Linked DNA regions of Homo sapiens: all the other regions are linked to region 2. The links are contacts of gene promoters, found by promoter capture Hi-C in blood cells and fetal thymus (Javierre and others, 2016). All regions are on one chromosome and are shown on one strand. The core of a region is centred on a gene start or on the middle of the fragment in contact, and the rest is flanking DNA. Distances in the headings are between cores, read along the strand shown.

Region 1 (3,385 bases), core at 72-2,571, about 11 Mb after region 2:
AATGTTCAGATCTTTTGTTTTTTTGTTTGTTTTTTGAGATGGAATCTCACTCTGTTGACCAGGCTGGAGTGCAGTGGCATAATCTTGGCTCACTGTAACCACCAAGGTTCAAGCGATTCTCCTACTTCAGCCTCCCAAGTAGCTGGGACTACAGGCACGTGCCACCACGCCTGGCTAATTTTTTGTATTTTTAGTAGAGACAGGGTTTCACCACGTTGGGCAAGCTGGTGTCGAACTCCTGACCTCAGGTGATGCACCCGCCTCAGCCTTCCAAAGTGCTGGGATTATAGGCGTGAGCCACCATGCCTGGCCAAGAATGTTCAGATTTTTTAATTCACTCCGCTAAAATCAACAGCTTACCTCCACTTTAAAAACAAGACCAACAAGTCAATTAGCAGCTCTCAGGACCCCTGTGCACTCACTCTGAAAATGACCGAGGATGCCAAGCTACTAATAAATTTACTGTTAAGAAATTAAAACTGAAAAATTGCTAAAATATTAATTCCTAACAATAAAACTCATTCTGTTTTAACACAAAATAACGCTTTCTATAAAAATGACTACTTTTCAAACAAAAAAACTTAGCTAGAAGAGTGCGTTTCCTTGTATTTTTACAAATTCTAGGATCCCTGAAATGGTTTCAAGGACTTTCAAGAACTCCCAGGCAATAGCTGGAGAACCAGTCAGTTAATGCATCTGTTCACATTTCTAAGGAAAACAGCATTAGGAAAAGAAAGAGGTCCTGAAATATGTAGGCTACTGGTGTATTCAAGCCAGGGATCCGGCTTTTTTGTTTTTTTCTTTTAAGACGGAGTTTCACTCTGTTGCCCAGGCTGGAGTGCAGGGGCGCAATCTAGGCTTACTGCAACCTCCACCTCCAGGGTTCAAGTGATTCTCCTGCCTCAGCCTCCCAAGTAGCTGGGATTACAGGTGTGCGCCACCACGCCCAGCTGATTTCTGTATTTTTAGTAGAGATGGGGTTTCACCATATTGGCCAGGCTGGTCTCAAACCCCTGACCTCAGGTAATCTGCCCGCCTCAGCATCCCAAAGTGCCAGGATTACAGGCATGGGCCACTGTACCCAGCCAGGTCTAAGTTATTCTAAAGCCATTCCTCCTTTTCAGCTCTTTGCTTCCTCCACTTGAGGGCATCTTAAAACTGATCCTCGGTGTTCTAGTCTTCTTGTTTTACATAATATCCTGTGAAGTCTTATATGTTCTAACTTCTAATACTACCTATAATACATCAATGCCAATCCTAACTCCAGCTTTCATCTTAGAGCTAACGGTCATTTCCACCTAGTTGGTATCCCAAATTCACACATTCAAAAGCAAAGCCATTTCTCACCTTCCTCCAAAATACTTGTAATTCCTAATATCCTGACTCCAATCCATTCTTTATTTTCTATTCCCAAGGCCCTTCACAGAATCGAAACTTTTGTTATGAGCTCTTACATGGTGTATCATCAATATGTTCACTAGACAGGAGTTTTTTTAAAAAAAAATCCTCATCATTCCTCTTCAATTCAAGAGCTCTGATGGCTTCCAGTCTATACAAGATATATTAAGGCTCAACTTACAGTTCCAGTCTCACCTGCCCCACCTCCACCTTCCCAAACCCTCTGTATTCTAGCCAGAGCATACCTGCATTCCCTTAGCTCAACATGCGTCCTTGCTCACACTGTCCCTTTGGTTGACCTAGCTTCAATTCCTTCCTCATGTGCAGTTATGTGTCTACTAAGCAGCAATGTGAAATGTCTTTATTGTAGGTCTGTCAAAAGCTAAAGTCATGGCCCGGTGCAGTGGCTTGGGCCTGTAATCCCAGCACTTTGGGAGGCCCAGACAGGCCAATAACTTGAGGTCAGGATTTAGAGACCAGCCTGGCCAACAGGGTGAAACCCTGTCTCTATTAAAAATACAAAAAAAAAAAAAAAATAGCCAGGCATGGTGGTGCGCGCTTGTAGTCCCAGCTACTCAGGAGGCTGAGGCAGGAGAATCACTTGAACCCAGGAGGAGGAGGTTGCAGAAAGCCAAGATCATACCACTGCACTCCAGCTTGGGTGACAGAGCGAGACTTTGTCTCAAAAAAAAAAAAAAAAAAAAAAAGTTAAAGTCATTACTTTAGATTTTGTTTAGAGAATTTTTCTGACAAGAACAAATCACCAAAAAAAGACTGGCTTTAATGGTTTGAGTCAAAGTTTAATAAGAGCATGCTAGGAAACATTTGAATGAAATTCACTTTTTAAACTGTTTGGTTTCCCTTCAAATCCCCCAGATGTGCTGCAATCCTCAGTATCCAAGTATCTTAATTACCCCTCTAAAAGTTAAATATTAATCCAAATAATCACAAACCTCATCTTGAGTTGACCTGACCTCCTTCTACACTAACCATTAATAAACTCATCTCTGAAATGAGGCTACCCATAATCAGACCACAGAATAGCAGTATGAAATATAAAACTTTAGATATAAAGACAAAAGGTACAAAGTTTTAAATATTGAGCCCACCAAAATCCATAATCCATGTAACCCAGGACAATCCACTAAACCTAAGTTTCTCATAAACTTAAACCTCATTTTGCTCATCTGTAAAGTGGTGATGAATATCTTCCTGCAGGGTTATAGAAAAACGTAAATGAGCTAATACATGTAAAGTATACAGTGTCTGGCTTTACCCAAATATCAATTAAATAGTAAGTTCAGAGTTACAGTCTTTCTTGTAGTTTGAAAATTCTTAAAATTTCCGTAAGGTGATTTTTGAATACCCTAACATCAATTCTAAGTTTTCCTTCATTAAAAAAGAAAAATTGGCAAGGCTAAGGCAGGAGGATTGCTTTAGCTCAGGAGTTCAAAACCTCAACTCTACAAAAATTTTATTTAAAAATTAGCCAGGCACTGGTGGCATATGCCTGTGATCCCAGCTACTTGGGAGGCTGAGGCAGGAGGATCGCTTCAGCTCAGGAGGTTGACGCTGTGTTCATACCACTGCACTCCAGCATGGGTGAAAGACTGTCTCAACAACAACACAAAAATTAAAAAAAAAAAAAAGAAAAGAAAAGAAGAATGGTACTAAGGCTCAGTCTATAATAAAAGCTTCCTATTTTGGTTGCTACAGTACCTTCAAAATGTCTCCATGCACATGTAACTTTAGAAAAAGATAAATTGTGTATGCGGTATGTTCAATCTCTGCATGGTAAGACAGGTAATTCACTTCAATACTTTCCTGAATTTTTCAAAGTTTCTACAATGATCAGGGACTGCTACTTTTGAAACCAGAAATTTTTAATTGATGGTTCAGGCTTAAGTGTATAAAGACAGTTACTTCTCACCCACAGCAAGAAAATGCAAATTAAAAAGTACATTAGAATGCAATTTTTCACCTATTG
Region 2 (3,017 bases), core at 224-2,723:
GAAGCAGGTATCTGGGCAGTGCCAACTGTCAGGGAGGATGCAAAGAGAAGTCGTCACCAGAGAAACCAGGGTCCGAAATGCAACCAGCAACAGGGAAATGTGAAGCCTTAAACAGGAAATAAAAGCCTGGGTTTCTTTAGACTATGGTTGGGATAAGGAAGGGGAGTACAGGGGTGATAAACTTTAGCAATATTCCCAGAAAGTGTTGGCGCCTTTGACAGAAGCATGGGAAAGAAGGCATCCGGGTAGAGGCTCTTCACTATTTGCTGGTGGAGGGATCATAGACCCCTCTGAGATCTTATGGACCCTCTCCCCAGAGCACGTACCGGGCAGTATTTACTCCATTTCAGGAGTTCCACAGCCTTGGGGTAGGAGCCCCTGCCTAGGAGATAATAAGACTGACGCTGCCTGATATTCTCACGCCCGCATTCATTCATTCGAACAGGGGATCCCTTTTGTCACGCAAGCAGCTCTACCCTCAGCATCCTACCCGTAACAGGAGCTCCATAAACACTTGTTGACTGACTGCTTGTATCGAGTGCTGAGCTGGAAACAGAGGTGATGAACAGGTATGATATTAAAATAGCAACTAGAGTGTACTGAGTGGACACTGTGCTCTAAAGGTTTTATGTGTATTTTCACATTTAATATGTATTTTCACATTTCTCCCTTTGCGGCGGCCCTTTTCAATACCCATCTTACAGATGAAGCTTAAACTGATTAGCAATTTGCCCTCCAATGACCCGACGACTAAGTGGCAGAGCCCCAATTCTCACCCGGGGAATACTGATTCCAGAGCTACGCTCCTGGGAGCTCACGATGCAGTAGAAGCATCAGAAACGGTAAAGGGGGTGGGAGGGGAGGAGTAAGTGTGACCCAGACTACAAGTAAGAGGAGCTAAGATGCCTTGGCAAATCCCTGCCAGTCCTGAGAGGCGGGAAGCTGAAAGGCTGGCCCGAGTCTTGCAGGAGTTCGCAATCCAGGCGGGGAGTTAGGAAGTGACTCTTTTTTAAGGGGGAGCTGGACAGCTCTCGTCGGCCTTCACCAAGCGCCCACTTCGTGTCCGGCCTCAGGCCACACAACCAGAAGGGCCCGGGCCTAGAAGCCCGAGGGCTCGGGGTAACGAGGCGACGCCGGGCGGCGGGGAGGAGGCCGGGGACCGCCGGGGTTCCTGCAGGCCTGGGACGGCGGGCCTGCTCGAGGACTGACCTTCCCGGAGGCGCCGTCCCCCAGCACGACGATTTTCAGTTGCCGGTCCTGGCTCTCCTCCTCAGAGTCCGACATGGTGTCCCGGGAACCAGGCCCGCCCCTCGAGGTGGGGGGGGAAGGGAAGGATGAAGGCTCCGGGGGCGGGGGAGAGGAGGAAGGGAGGTAGTTGCGGCAGGACCCCCGCCCCGGTGTCTCCGCGCCGGCAGGAGGTATTCGAGGAGAATCACTCGGCAAGCGCCATCTTGCCCACCTCCCCGCCCTCTGCGCGCGGCCCCGCCCCCTACGCGCACGTCGGGCGCGCGCCCCCGCCTCAGAGCCAACCCGCGCCGACCGGCGGCCCCGCCTGACGAGCCGAACCACTCGCGGCCCTGGACTGGTGTGGGGGACATTCCGGCGGGAGAGGCGAGGCGCTGCGTTTCCCTTCAGGAGACAGTTGGCTAGAAGAAGAAAAGAAGTGTTCGTTCAAATTAAGGAGAGAAAACGGGAGCAGAGCAGCTTTCAGGCGTTCCATCAAATTCCCTTTTCTCCTTCCCTCTTGAGAAAGTCTCTGAAGGGAATGGTTCAGCCTGACGGGGTGGAGCAGTGACGCCCGGGCTACGCGCCAGGGTTGCCTGGCAGCCAGGAGTTCGAGGACCGGCGGCGGGGCGGGGCCTGTCTCCGGGCACCCGGGACGCCCGTAGCCTGGCGGAGAGCGCCAGAGAGGGCCCCTGAAAAACCGGACCAGGGAAGAGGGTACCTCGGGGCGGATGAGGGGACAGCTGCTAAGGGCCGAGGCTGCTGGGAAGCCTCAGTAGCGGCCGTGAATACAGTGGAGCTCCGGCGCTGCTTATTTCGGCCTAACTCTTGGTTTCCTCATCTGAACAACCCCAGGCTCCCATGGTTCGTTCATCAGACGCTACTGATCGCCAACCTCCTGGCACCCCATCTTTACCCTAAGGCAGCAGTTCTCATAAAGTGTGGTCTAGGGACCTCTGGAAATCCCGATGACCTCAGAACAATTTTCATAATAATACGGACACCTTGTCTGTCTTTCTCACGTTCCTTCTCTCACTAGTATACCGTTTCCTGGAGGATACGCTTTGTGTACGACGTCATCACTGGCAGCTAAGGGAGCTTGCGTTTGTTGTTTTTAAACATTTCTCAGTTTTCATTTCAATGCAGTAGTGATAGGTGTAACCCACATAAACATAAGCTCTTTGGAGGTCACAGTAATTCTTTAACATTATAGAGAGGCCCTGAGTCCAAAAAATTTAAGAACTGCTGCCCTGGATAATCTCAGTCCAGGAGCGTTAGGTAAACGGCATAAATGAAATTTACAATTTAGTGAGGTAAATTCAAAAATAATAATGCTGTCCTGCTATGGTTGTTTCATTGTTAATCACTTAAAATTTATTGTTACCTTTACTACTATTAGGAATTATGAAGTATAATTATCCCCATTTTGCAGATGAAGTATCTTAAGTTAACAAAATGCTTAGCCCAGAGGCAGTAGTCTTGGAGACCATATGGGCATTAGAACAGGAAAGCAGAACAGTGTAAAGAAATGCCCAGACCTAGAGGCATCACTGGAGTTTAATCTCATGTTTACTAGATATGTGTCCTCGAGCCTCAGTTAGTTCACCTGTAGAACAGACTACTGCCTTTGTGTAGGTTTGAAAATTAAATGAAATAATCGGCATAAAGTAGATAGCACAATGCCTGGTGTGTAGTAAGCACTCAATATTAACCAGTGTAACTATCACCCTCATCATCATCATAATTAGATGATGGTCCGTGTTGGAAGTGTCACTACTTTCTAGCCAATTTAC
Region 3 (3,003 bases), core at 257-2,756, about 11 Mb after region 2:
AGATGACAGTTCTGAGATTCAGCCCAGACAGTGTGTGTGCTTAATTGCTATGTTCTGCTGCGGCTGATAAATAGATATTCTCGTTCCACTTTATTCGTCTAAGGTGTGGTTACTGAAGATAAGTTCTCCCAGTCTGACAAGATGAACATGAACTGATAAAACTTCTGCATTGTCCATGTAGAGAACTAGTTTACAGAACTCTCAGTGGACAAGTGGGGATTTGGATTATTTGAACCCAGTCCAACTCTAGAGCCGCACTATTGACCATTGTACAGTATCACTATTACCATTTATTTATTCAATCAACAAATATGTATTAAGCTCCCATGTCAGGCATTAAGTGCTGGGGAAAGAGGAAAGAAGAAAATAGCCATAGTTCTTGCCTTCATAAAACGTGGCAGAGGGAGAGAGACAGGCACTGAACAGCTAAACACATAAATAACTATGTTGTTATCACGATGATAAGTGCTGAAAAGGCCAGCTACAGACGACAGGCATTGTGAGAGCATATAACAAGTGGCCTTGATCTACATTGAGGGTTAGGGAATGCCTCTCTGAGAAAGAAACATTTAGACAAAAACCTTAAAAATAAATGCAATCCCAGCACTTTGGGAGGCCAAGGCAGGCAGATCACCTGAGGTCAGGAGTTCAAGACCAGCCTGACCAACATGGAGAAACCCCATCTCTACTAAAAATACAAAATTAGCCGGGCATAGTGGTGCATACCTGTAATCCCAGCTACTCGGGAGGCTAAGGTGGGAGAATTGCTTGAACCCAGGAGGCGGAGGTTGCGGTGAGCCAAGGTCACATCATTGCCCTCCAGCCTGGGCAACAGGAGCAAAACTCCATCTCAAAAAAAAAAAAAAAAAGAATGCAAATTGTCCAGGCAGAGAGGGCAGAAAGCATTCCAAGCAGAGGAAACAGCCTGTGCAAAGGCCCTGAAGCTTTAAAAAGTCAGGTGCGACCCACAGACAGAGAAAACAACATGGATGTGTTGAGATGAGGAATTTGTCATCTGTGATCCTGCAGATGCAAGAACAGGGCATATCATGCCCCATCTGAGGAGTCCTGCTGAGGAGGTAAGCCTTTATCCTTCCTAAAACAAGAGGAAAACAGAAATGAGATTTAAGTGGGAAAACAACATGATCACTCATGAGGATTTGCCAGGATCAATCCACCAGTCTCCCTCTTTGAATCCTCTTTAGCAACAAAATGCTTACAAATTTGAAAGAATTTTCAGTACTATTTTTAATCACCTTATCCTCTCTCTAGTAAGAGACAGAAATAGTTACAAACTATAGTGGTGCTATGGCTTGCCATCAAAATCTCACTTTCATAATGAGACATCCCTCAGCTCTGGGAGTGCTTGCCACCTGCACACGATCCTCGTGTCAGCCCTCTTCAGAAACTTCCATGGCTAAAGAAAGCTGCCATGCCCAGGGGCAGCCTGAATACATTCTACAGGTATAAAGGCTTGGCCTGTCTACCAACTTAGGACAACTGTGAGCTTCAGAGCATCTGAACCCTCTGTGGGATCAGCTGAAGTCTTTGTTATAATGGCATCTGATGTACCCCAATGCAATTTGGCCAGTAACAATCCAGAGTTACCTCCAATCCCACAAGTTAAGGCCACAGTCCCAAGCAAGACTGAAGATGTCCCCACTCCAGACACCATCCATAAGTTCAGGGGTCTGCAGGCCACCAGCACTCCGGCCCAACTGGCTACAAATTCAGAGTTTCTCACAATTCCATCATATTTGATAATTTACTAGAATAACTTATAAAACTCAGGAAAGCACTATACTTATGGTTGCTGTTTTATTATAAAGGAAACAAATCAGAGCGTCTGTGTCCTCTCCCCATGGAATTAGAACATGTGACCCTCCCTCACATCCATGTCCTTACAAACTAGGATGTTCCACTGAGCTTCAGTGTCTGCAGTTTTTATTGGGGTTTCATTATGTAGCCATGATTGATTGACTGAATCATTGGCTCCATGATTCAACTCAATTTCCAGCCTCCTTTCCCTGCTTAAAGGTCAAGAGATTGGGCTGATAACATGTGGCTCAAAGCTTCAACCCTTTAATCACATGGTTGGTCTTTCTGGGATGACCAGTTCCCATCCTGAGTTATCTCCTTAGCACTAATTCAGATGTCGTCCAAGGGCCCAACATAAAGAGAGTAACTCTTTAGGGAATAAAGGGAATACATAAACCTAAAGAGAATAAAGGGAATACATAAAGAGAATAAAGGGAATATATAAACCAGGATACACAAACCAGGAAGTCACTGCATATTCACTAAAGAGAGCAACAAAGATACTCTTATGACTTGGGAGACCCCAAGGATTTAAAATGAACCAATCCCGTGAACCAGGGATAAAGGCCAGTCAAATTCATTGTCATGCAACAGCATCACAGTCAACTTTTCCTTATCTGATTCTACTTTTATCTTTTCTTTCCACTGATATTGATCCTAAATGTACTTCTTAATAAACATTCTAAATGCTAATCTTTGCCTCAGAGTCTAGTTTTCATGGAAGCCGACCTAAAAGATTTGGTGCCAGAAGTGGTGCCAGAAAGAAAGCAGACATTATGATTGGATTTTGGAGTTGGTCACCCATTGCTGGCTGGCAATGAATCTGTGGTGGAGGTAGGACACAAGGAAGCAGGGCAATTGTTAAAACTTTCACCTGTAGCTTACTGGGAAAAAAGCATGTGGTGTACTGCAAAAGGCATGCAGTTCTCACATATGGGGGAACTGGTAACTATAAGCTCCCTAGAATTTGATGGCTATTGCTAAGTAGAATTAATATTTTGGGGAGAGATAATGAAAGGCTGGAAGTTATTTATCTGCAATTCAAAACTAAGCATGAAAACCAGAAATCCTATGAGGGAGCATATAAAAAGGTTTTCATTTCTTGCAGTGGAAAGGCAGAGAAAACTGAAAGGCAGTTCCAGGACTTAAACATAATAGTAGCAGAAAATTAAGTGGAAACTTCCA

Evidence for each region. Contacts are between HindIII fragments. The CHiCAGO score rates a contact against its expected background, and 5 or more counts as called.
Region 1: a fragment that was not itself captured here is called in contact with the fragment with the promoter of RAB28 in region 2 in 2 of 17 cell types (total CD4 T cells and non-activated CD4 T cells); the score reaches 7.5 in total CD4 T cells.
Region 3: a contact is called between a fragment that was not itself captured here and the fragment with the promoter of RAB28 in region 2, in 3 of 17 cell types (non-activated CD4 T cells, total CD4 T cells and activated CD4 T cells). The highest score is 8.3, in non-activated CD4 T cells.

The regions. Positions count from the first base shown.
Region 1 is chr4:24,572,124-24,575,508 of GRCh38, forward strand. All of the region lies in intron 2 of DHX15 (DEAH-box helicase 15), which reads right to left. Among named protein-coding and RNA genes, the nearest start is that of DHX15, 11 kb to the right of the region's middle. The HindIII fragment of the contact is 3,537 bases long and covers 1-3,090 here.
Region 2 is chr4:13,482,867-13,485,883 of GRCh38, forward strand. It overlaps RAB28 (RAB28, member RAS oncogene family), which reads right to left and starts at 1,474. Exons shown (of 7, transcript NM_001017979.3): 1 at 1,210-1,474. The coding sequence starts at 1,284. LOC105374495 (a long non-coding RNA gene) reads left to right here and starts at 1,583. Exons shown (of 3, transcript XR_925413.1): 1 at 1,583-2,088. RefSeq lists silencers at 1,006-1,625, 1,619-1,913, 1,876-1,935 and enhancers at 1,359-1,653, 1,449-2,356, 1,616-1,735. The HindIII fragment of the contact is 2,971 bases long and covers 709-3,017 here.
Region 3 is chr4:24,588,310-24,591,312 of GRCh38, forward strand. LOC124900682 (a long non-coding RNA gene) reads right to left here. Exons shown (of 2, transcript XR_007058078.1): 2 at 278-1,096. Among named protein-coding and RNA genes, the nearest start is that of DHX15, 5.3 kb to the left of the region's middle. The HindIII fragment of the contact is 1,128 bases long and covers 943-2,070 here.